Linked DNA regions of Homo sapiens: all the other regions are linked to region 2. Evidence: promoter capture Hi-C in 16 types of primary human blood cells and fetal thymus (Javierre and others, 2016). All regions are on one chromosome and are shown on one strand. The core of a region is centred on a gene start or on the middle of the fragment in contact, and the rest is flanking DNA. Distances in the headings are between cores, read along the strand shown.

Evidence for each region. Contacts are between HindIII fragments. The CHiCAGO score rates a contact against its expected background, and 5 or more counts as called.
Region 1: the fragment with the promoter of USF1 here is called in contact with a fragment that was not itself captured in region 2 in 1 of 17 cell types (fetal thymus); the score reaches 5.3 in fetal thymus.
Region 3: the fragment with the promoter of KLHDC9 here is called in contact with a fragment that was not itself captured in region 2 in 1 of 17 cell types (fetal thymus); the score reaches 5.2 in fetal thymus.

What each region holds. Positions count from the first base shown.
Region 1 is chr1:161,044,561-161,047,557 of GRCh38, reverse strand. It overlaps USF1 (upstream transcription factor 1), which reads left to right and starts at 1,581. Exons shown (of 11, transcript NM_007122.5): 1 at 1,581-1,700. It overlaps ARHGAP30 (Rho GTPase activating protein 30), which reads left to right. Exons shown (of 12, transcript NM_001025598.2): 12 at 1-612. RefSeq lists enhancers at 731-1,611, 1,222-1,701, 814-2,013, 1,612-2,492, 2,552-2,781. The HindIII fragment of the contact is 1,293 bases long and covers 1,152-2,444 here.
Region 2 is chr1:160,396,377-160,399,652 of GRCh38, reverse strand. The region is part of intron 3 of LOC105371466 (a long non-coding RNA gene); the gene reads left to right. Among named protein-coding and RNA genes, the nearest start is that of VANGL2, 2.5 kb to the left of the region's middle. The HindIII fragment of the contact is 965 bases long and covers 1,065-2,029 here.
Region 3 is chr1:161,096,382-161,099,739 of GRCh38, reverse strand. KLHDC9 (kelch domain containing 9) reads right to left here and starts at 1,379. Exons shown (of 4, transcript NM_152366.5): 1 at 678-1,379; 2 at 235-394; 3 at 1-142. The coding sequence starts at 1,204. RefSeq lists silencers at 956-1,005, 1,066-1,245. The HindIII fragment of the contact is 8,697 bases long and covers 1-2,224 here.

The sequences.
Region 1 (2,997 bases), core at 332-2,831, 650 kb before region 2:
TGGTTGGTTTACCTGAACTTGTCTCCGACACAAAGCACTTATCTCTTAGGAGATTCCCAAGAAAGTCAACAAGATCTTGTTCCCAGGGAGTGGGTCATTGGCCAAAGGGAACATAAGGTAGGCAGAAAACTTAAAAGAGTTTGTTAAAGTGAAGACTGGAGAAATTCCTCCCTTCCTCTGAGCTGTGAATCTCTCTTCATGAAAGCCAAAGGTAGAGACAGGGAGGACAGGGCCAGGTTAGGGCCTTCCACACACAAACACTTCTAGAGTTGCCCATTCCTGTTATGTTCTTGGACCCTAAGATACCTCCTGTCCCTTTTAAATCCAGATTAAGAGAAACGTCCAGGAAGAGCTCTTTGAAGCCCTCAATATTTGTTGGAGGGACTGGACTCCTCTCCAGCTCCCCACCCTCTGCCTCCAGTCACCATGTGCAAGAGAGGTCCTGTACAGATCTCTCTGGGCTCTCCTTTCTCCTTTGGAATAACTTGTTCCTATTTCAGGAAAGGGAAATGGTGTCACTCAGGCCCTGGGACTGCTTCTCCAGCCAGGCTGGGGCCACAGGTCCCACTCTAGTGAAGGTCAATGTCTCAGAATAAAAGCTGTATTTTTACACATAGTGTGGAGTCTCATTATTCTTATTAAAGTCTTTGGTGATAGGTATTATATCTTCACATATTTGGCAAAACATTCTTTTTCTTCTTCTTGTTTGGGTGCTCTTCCTCAGTTGTTGTCATGGAGACTAGTGGCCAGAAACTAGAGCTAGGTTCATGGTGGTCAGGAAATAAGGAAGAGAAACTTATATTTACATAATGCGTTCATTATGTGCCAGGAACTGGACTAAGTATCCTGTGCTCACAAAATCTATGTCCTTGATTTTATTTAATCCACACAATTCTGGAAGGTTGGTGCTAGTATCTCCAGTTTATAGATGAGGAAACTAAGGCTCAATTAAGTCAAAATGTTTGCCAAAGGTCTCAGAGGTAAGAAGTGGCAGAGATGGGTTTGAAACCTGGATCTGCCTGGCCCCCAAGCTTGAATTTTTCCCATTATACCACACTACTCCAAATCCATTCAGGGTAGGTCTTGATTGAGAAGAATGGGAATCAAGATTCCTGTCACAGAAGGTGTGAGCCTTTAGAACACTAGAAGCTTTGGGGTCTTTGGATGAGTGACTGCTGACGCGAATAACAAGGAACATATCCAATTCTATGCATGCCCCGATAGGTCGTAATCTCTAGCAGGTAACCTTTCAAAAAGACGCCCTGCGCCAAGATGGCCTCCCAAATAGCCCTTGTTAAAGATGGCGCCTCCGTCGGACGTCCCTCCCTTGATCTCAGCTGGATTCTCTTCTTTCCTGGAATGAAAAAATGCCCTGCCAAGCACTAAGATATTAGTACAAGTTAGTCGTCTCTTTCCCGTTCTTGTCGAAAGTGGCCAGGCCTTCAGCTACATTCTCCAGGACACGGCTTCTTTCCGGCTTCACAAATAACCCACAAACACCAACTCTCATCAAGATGGAGTGAGCGGAAGTGGGGCAGTTCTGAGTTTGAGTTTATGGGCGGGGCGAGAGCGACACTTCCGCCCCTCACCAACATGGCCGCGGGCTGGAAGTGCGCATGAGCAGCTGTCTATGGAGATACCTAGGCCGGGAGAGGGAGAACACAGTTGGAGAAAATCGGCAGCTGAGACGGCCTTGGCCGGTGAGTGTAGGACCGGGCAGAAGTCTGGAAACTGGGTGGACTGGCAAGGCAGGGCAGCTTTGATTTTGTTTCCGTTTTTCAAGTTAGAGAACACTGCTGGGGAGGAAGCCTTTGTTTTGGGGGAGGGGGCTGTGCTGGTTCTTTATCTCATACCCTGCTTTGTGGGCCAAACTCTCTCCCTTCCCCAGAGCGCGAGCGTCCCAGCCCTCCTGCGCTGTCCAGCTGCGCGCCGCAGCCGCCGGCACCGGGCGCTTGAGCTCCCTAGTCCCCGAGGCCCTTTCCTGCCTCCTCCGCGGAGCAGCTGGGGCGCGGGGCTAAGACTGCGGGGCTGCGGGGTCACGGCGCAGGCTCCCGGGCTCGCGCCTGGCGGGCGCTCAGCTCCGTAAGCGCCTTCTGGTTGGTGAGCCTGCAGGGAGACGCCTCATTCTAAGGCAAGGTCTAGGTGCCTGACTTCTTTCGGGAGTTGATTTTTTTTCCCTTTGTGTCCAGACTTAGCAAGGGCTCTTACTGGGCCCTTCTGGCCTGAGCGTGCACACCACAACGTCCCATCCCTGTTTCCGTGTCACCGATCCCTAATGCCTAGGAAATGCTTCCGGATGTCCAACTAAGATTTGAATAAGTACCCTGACCCCGTTGCTGGGTGTCCTCAGAGACTGCCCCGGCTGACAGCTGTGGCCAATAGAGATGCCTCCTGTGCCGGGCCCTCTATTTCATTGCCTTCCCCTGCAGTCAGCGCGGCAAGCTTCGCAGGGCATTTCCTCTTCAGGTTTGAAGATGGAAATGTAGGTGGTCCCAAAACACTAGTGCTACTTCCCCTTATCGACTGGGATCTCCTTGCAGCGTTACTTCGTCTGTACGGTTTCACTTTCAGTTCCTTTTTCAACATTTTCCTCGGACGCGGTCTTTCCGAGGCTTATCCATTGAAAATTTTCCTTGGATAGGAAAGGTTTGGAGGACCTTATGGGTAGAGAATTTCCAAAAATCTTGCCCCTTTTGTGTTGGGATTATCTTATTGCTTTGTACTGTGTAGCTGTTTCTTTCTGGAGGCATGTCTGCCCAGCTCTTTGTTTTTCCTGCCCTCTGGCTGGGTGTCAGGGTCCTAAGGCAGAGCTTGTAGGTGGATTCTTCCCCCTTTGTCTCTTCTTCAGAACCCTGTTTTTTTTTTTTTTACCCCTTCTTGCTCAGGCTTAGTTGATTTGGAGTTGTCATAGCAACATTTTAGCAACAGTGTTGTTCTGCAGGAAGGCTTGATGAATAAAATAGAGAATGCTTGAAGAGGATCCACTTGGGCTTTAGG
Region 2 (3,276 bases), core at 298-2,797:
GGGCATTTGTGCCTCCCAGTATGCCAAGAAACCAGTTAGGGTTCTTTTACATGTGACCCTACAAGAGTGAACCCACACCGTAAAAGCCTGGGCTGTGGGAAGTCCATGTTCCCCTTGGAGTAAGTGAAAGCAGTATTCAATTATCATTAATGTTATTGCCGTGCAACCCGCCACTTAGAGTAGTATCATTTCAAAAGCATCTTCACATACTTCTCCCTAAGCAGGCCAAGGCCTTTTCAATATCTCAGCCTCCTTCAGTTTCCAATCCTGGCACCTGCTTGAACAACCCTGTGATTAAGGAATCCCAGAGAAAGAGACTCCCAGCCTCTGTTCCTCACTTGTTTGGGAATTTTTGCTCCTCCCTGATGAAAACTATTTCCTGAGACCTAATCTCACCCCTTTTGATGGTTCATTCTAACCTGTCCAAAGATGAGGACAGAACCAACTATGCTGCATTGTTCAAAGATGCAGAACAGTAAAACACACTTCCTTTCTCCTTTGCCCAAACTCTGTCTTTCCTCATCCCCTCCTCCAGTAGTATGGGTAAGCAGGTGACTCAGCATCAAGACTACATGAAATATGCAGAATCATCATTTCAGGTACCCAAGTCCCTGCATGCGTCCAGGCACTCATTCACCTTGTGCCTATCATGTGCAGGCACTGGGCCGCACTGGGGCTCCTGGCAGTGACCACGACCAGGTGTATGAGGGAGTGGCAGGAGAGCTGGGGAAGGGTTAAGGGAAGTAGGGAGGACATGGGTGTCCCCAGCCCTGCCCCAAAGCACACCCCAGTGCTAGGCAGCTAGTGTGTAATTTGACACAGAGTCGGGGCTGCCGTGGCACTGTCTTGACTCTCAGGCAGATTTAGTGTGAATTATCTTCACATGCTGCTAGCCTGTTTCACAGACCCCAAAATGGCCCAAAGAACTGGAAAAAGGGCTTCTGATGCCAGAATTACAGATAATTCCATAGTCTGGCCCCACTGAAAGCTTGAAACCTAAGTCAGGATGTTAACAGACAAGGCTTCCCAATTAACAGGTATCAGGCATCAGGCTAGAATAAGCTTAGTCCCTCCTTTCTCTGACGGTGAGGTTGGGGGCTTTCAATTACATCTCTGCAATGAAAACACTGGATTACAGAGTCCAACAAAAAATTTTATTGGTGTGGTCTGTCCCATTCAGCAATTCTCTGTATTACCTTCTACCTTCACCTCAGGATAGAATCCCATCTGGATTTCACACGTCCCCAAGTCACTGAGTAAGCAAACAGAGACCCAGCTAGAAGGCCCATGTGCCCTATGGTCTAAGGGACCTAGCTTAATTCTTTAGAAGGAAGGAGAGCACTGAAATGACATTCAACTGAGATTTTCCTAAAGGGGCCAACCTACAATAACAGAGGGAGGCCAAGAGCCTGAGGGACAATAGAATGGAACAGATTGGATTTTGTACAGCTCCTGTCCTTGAGGACATAGTCGAATTTCTTAATTTCTTCAAGCCTCAATTTCTGCTTATATAAAAAGGGTCTAATGAGGTAACAGAAGGAACACCCTCCATATACTCATAGTGCCACAGTCAATTCCCAGTCGAGTTTCCCCTCTCTGTTCTGTGCCTAGGATACTTCTCTTAGGAGAGAACACTTCTCTAGGACACTTCTTTCAGTACTCTTCCTCGGGGAAGGAGGCCCCTAGCTAAAAGCCAGGGCCCTCCATTAAAGCCCTTTCAACACCTCACCAGCTCACTAGGTGGAGGTGGGGCTGGTGGGGTCAGATCAGAGGCTTCCCAGGAGCCCTGGGAGTTGGACCCTCCTGGGGAAGATTCAAGGAACTCAAGAAGTGACAGTAGACTCTCTCTGAGGGAAGGTCCAGACTATAGAGAAGCACCTACCTACTTCCTGTGTGGATGAAGCTGTCCCTGGAGGTCAGGCCCAGACCACAGTAGCAAAAGTTAGGTTTTCTGCTCTGATGAAAAGTAGGGCCTTTTTACAATGCTGCTCAGAGAAAGGGAATCCTTGGTACCTTACTCATAGAAGCTTCACACTATAGCAGAATGGCCATCAAAGTGTTTCCATGTAAGCAATTAGCAATTTTAGCCACCTCCCAGGTACAGGTGACTGCAGTAATGTACCCACATGCAGGGCCACAATCACCATCTACTTCCAGCCCTGCTGATGAGCCTGGGTACAAGTTGATCTCCCGGAATAGTTACAGATCTTTCCCCAGCACCCACCTTCCCAGAAAGGCTACTCTCAATGCTCACAAAAGGATTTCCAGACCCAGTCTATATTGGGAAATACCTGGGTTCTGGGTGTGAGGGGTTTCCCCCTTCACTTTTAGTTAAAAAAAAAAAAAAAAAAGAATAAAAGTAGCTCACACACAAAAAAACTTAACTGGTCAAGAACTGTATTATGTCATAGGCTTGTGGTGAAGTGTCTGTCATGTGAGATCCTGATCTCTAAGAAGAAGGACCATGCCTCATTCATTTCTATATCTCTGGCACATAAAATTCAATAAGTTAGCATTAGCTGCCTTCCCTTCTAGCTTCCTTCTCTTTCTCCCTTCCTCATCTATGAAACCTTGACCACTCCCTATTCATCCAACCTTTATTAAGTGTGAGTTTCCTCAAATCCAATCCCATTATCATTAATCTAAAATGTTACCTGCAATTAAACCAGTGGTTGTGAACTTTGACTGCAGATTTTAATCACCTGGGAAGCTTTGAAAACACATCAATGCCCAGGACCATCCCAGACTAATTAAACCAGAAACTTCTGAGGTGTGACCCAGCTATTGGCATTTTTTTTAAGATACCTCAGTGATTTTAATGTGAGAACCACTGAATGAAACTTTCTGATTTCCTTCCTCCTTCTTGGGAAGAATAGACACTCTCCAGCTCCCTTGGCTGGGACTAGGCCCTGCAGGTGTGCGTTATATCCTGTCCTTTCCCACCTCCATCCATTATTCACAATCTCTCCTGTAACCAACTTCGGCCTCTTCACTGATCTTTGCCCAGCAGACATAATAAAATGAAATACCTTCCTCCACTCAGCAGCCTCCTCTTGCTTTAGCCTTCGCTTTTATTTCTTTCTCATCCAACCTTCTTAAAAGAGTAGATTCTTAGGCCAGGCCTGGTGGCTCACACCTGTAATCCCAGCACTTTGGGAGGCTGAGGCGGGTGGATCACCTGAGGTCGAGAATTAGAGACCAGCCTGACCAACATGGAGAAACCCCGTCTCTACTGAAAATACAAAATTAGCCGGTCATGGTGGCAGGTGCTTGTAA
Region 3 (3,358 bases), core at 130-2,629, 700 kb before region 2:
CTCCACCAAACAGCACAGCAAAGGGCCCGACCACAGAACATGAGTGATGCCGTAGTCCATGGGGCCCCTTCTGGGACCCCTGCCCACTGCTCACAAGCCTTGCAAGCTGTTCCATCAAATGAGGAGCAACAGGTGGTTCCTCCTTGGGGAGAAAGAAAGGACTGTCCGAAGAGACCTGGGCATCACAATTTTAGCCTCTTCCCATCCTAAACAAGATGTGTGAGGAGCTAATACCTTAATTTTCCCATGACTCCAATGCCCAGCTACTTCTGGTTCAGCTAAGTTGCAACCTCCAAAGAGCAATAGCTGATGACCTGGATGGGGTCCAGGAGTTTGGAGCAGGGCCGCACAGTGACCTGAGCGTGAGGCTGTGTGGCAGCCTTCTTGCTTGTAGCTGTGGACATGCAGAAATTCAGGGCTGAGTGGGTTTTCTGGAAAATGTAAGTGCCACCGCCCTTGCCAAGGATGGATGGAGAAGAGGCATGGGGCAGTGCGGTAGGTGGGATAAGAGGGAGGGTAATACTGTAGAGAGCTCAGCTAGCTTAAACATGGTAGGTTCCCCTGGAAGGAGGGTGCTAGAGTGAGGAGGTGGATAAATTGCCTGAGAAATCTGCTTAGGCTTTTGTTTTTCGAGAGTGTGGATGAGAGTGAAAGGTTTTGGGCGGAGGGTGCCATACCAATAGGTGCGGGCGCTGGGGTCCAGCCTTAATGTGTAGATGCTTCCATAGCGTCGCTGAGTGTGGATACCGCCCTCCCGGCCAGCCACCTGCAGCTCTCGGTCAGAGATTCGGGTGCAGGTGTGACTACTGAGGCCGGCGGGGGGGCAGTCACCAGGGGTCCCTGTCCACGCCTCCCACACACCGCGCTCTGTGTCCAGTGCGGTCACTGTGGCCAAGCGGCGAGACCCGTCCCAGCCGCCCACCACGCAGAGCCAACGCCCGTCCACGGGTGCCGCGTCGTGGTGACTGCGCGGGGGGCTGCCCCGGGCTCCCAATCGTACGGCCTGGCCCCTAGCTGGGTCGAAAACCACCGTATCGCTGCTGGGCTCTCTCGCTCCTCCTGCTAGGAGACCACCTACGAGATAGAACCGTCCCCGCAGTTCGGTGCATGAATGGAAAGCTCTAGCCAAAAGCGCGTCCCGCGCCACTGGCCTCCAGGCCCAGCCTGAGCCTGCGGCCCGACCCGGGGGCACGGCCACCGCCATGGGCCCCGGGGAGAGGGAGGGCGGTGGGGTCTGCGGCTTGGAACGAGCCCCTACATGGCAGGCCAGGCACCTCGCCTTCCGCGGGCTTCCCCGGGAACCTCCCCCTACCGGACGCCAGCCGGGGTTCCCACCTCAAGTCCCGGCTTTCTCTCCGTGGTCGCCCAGCAACCACTGCAGCGGCTGCAGCGCGACCGCTGCAAACCGAAGGTCGCAAAGCAGCAGTTACCGTGGAGACAGGACACCTGGGTGGCTATCGGGAACCGTATGGTGGTGCCACCAAGGCTACGGGAGCTGTATCAGGTCAATAAAAATCCTGCAAGATTGTTAACCTCAGAAAGTCGGAGGACAGTCGGGTCCTTAGAATAAACCCCTGTGATCTCCGCTGTGAACTGATTTGCGATTTTGACATTTGAGGTGCAGGTGCTGCTCCACTAGGGCCGGGAGGGATCATTTGGCTTCAGGGTTTCTTACTCGGGCTAACCACCCCAGGGATGAGCAAGGAAGGAGAAGCAAAAGTCAGAGGGTGGGGAAGTGAAAGTGGACTGACCACTGGCCCGAGAGACAGGAGACCTGGGTTCTAGTCCCAACTATGCCCCTGACCCTCAAAGGCATTGTTTCTCTCTAGGCCTTCTCAGTTTTGTCATTCATCAAATAGGCTGTTCGTTTATTCCCAAAGGCTTGAAGGTCCCGATTGATTGGGTGGGAGAGTCCTTTCAGCTCTGGCCACTAGAGGGTAGCAGAACCCAGTCTCTCAGGTGACACACACACACACACACACACACACACACACACACACACAGAGAGAGAGAGAGAGAGAGAGAGAGAGAGAGAGAGAGAGAGAGAGAGATAGAGAGAGAGAGAGAACCCACGCAGCCTTAGAAGGGTGAAGTGGGGGAAGAGTGAGAAAATGAGAAAAACAGACTCCTACCCTTCCCTGATATCTTTTATTTAAGCCAGTTTCCAGATATTAACTCTGTCCCCCAGGACCAAGTGATAACTGAAGAGGCCCAGATGCAAGCTTTCTGCTTTCAGCTGAAGGAGGAAATACAGACAGAATTTTCCTCCCAACACAGCTGGTGTGGGGCAAAAACAGGATCTGTGTCCTCTGGGACTGGGCTGTAAGTGGGAATGATGACTGCTACTTGTGGCCTTTGGTTTCTACACATCACCTTGCTCCCCATCATACCTGAGATACTGAGACCATAGAAAGTGGCCAGGCAGGAGAATCACTTGAGGCCAGGAGTTCAGGAGTTCAAGACCAGCCTGGGTAACATAGTGAGACCCTGGCGAAAGAAAGAAAGAAAAAAAGAAAAGAAATAAAGAAAGGAAGAAAGGAGACAGTGGCCAGGGCTGCAGTGAGGATGGGCATGTAATGCAGGGTCTGATAGCACAGCAGGGCTTTCCCCTCCTCTTCCCAACTCTTGGTCCTCAGAGAACACAGCATGGGGATGGCATGGGCAGGAAAGGCACAGTTACAGAGATTGGAAGATTACCAGGACCTGTTCCCCACCTGTACCTTAAAGCCAAGATTCAACAATAGCTTTGAAAGTCTCTGCCCTCCCAACTATAGCTTTCCCTGAGTATGACAGGCAGTATTCTCAGTTTTCCAAAATCATGGTAAGAATCTCTAAAAAATCACTAACTTTTACTGTCCTTGGCTGAAATTTAAAAGTCAGTCTTTTCCCTCAGGCTTCTTTCTCACTGGCTAACCTCCCAACAGCTGGATTCAGATCTGTCATACTCCTAGGATTAGGCAAGGGCTTGCCTCAGGGGTGGGGCAATTTTGCTTAAACCTTATTGGCCTATATGTCCATTTTAGGCTCTTGCTTTTGCCTAAGTCTTGGCTGTTCTGTTAGACTTACTTTCTGCCTTTCCTGGATAGAAATGGGAACTCCCCACCCCACGGGCCTTTCCAGCTCCTCTCTCCCAGCTTCCTCTCTGACTCTGAGTCCTTAGCAGTAGGCATCTTAGTTAGACATAGAGCTTGAACCTCACATACTCCTTGGCTGTACCCTCTCCAGTTCTGTACCTAGATGCTTCCAGTTCCTCCTAATAGCTGGAAGCATCTGTCCATTGCTTTGCCATCCCAAGACCCTGGGAGAGGAACTGCCTAGGACTCCTACCTTCTTAGGTTAGTTTGAACCAAATCCATAT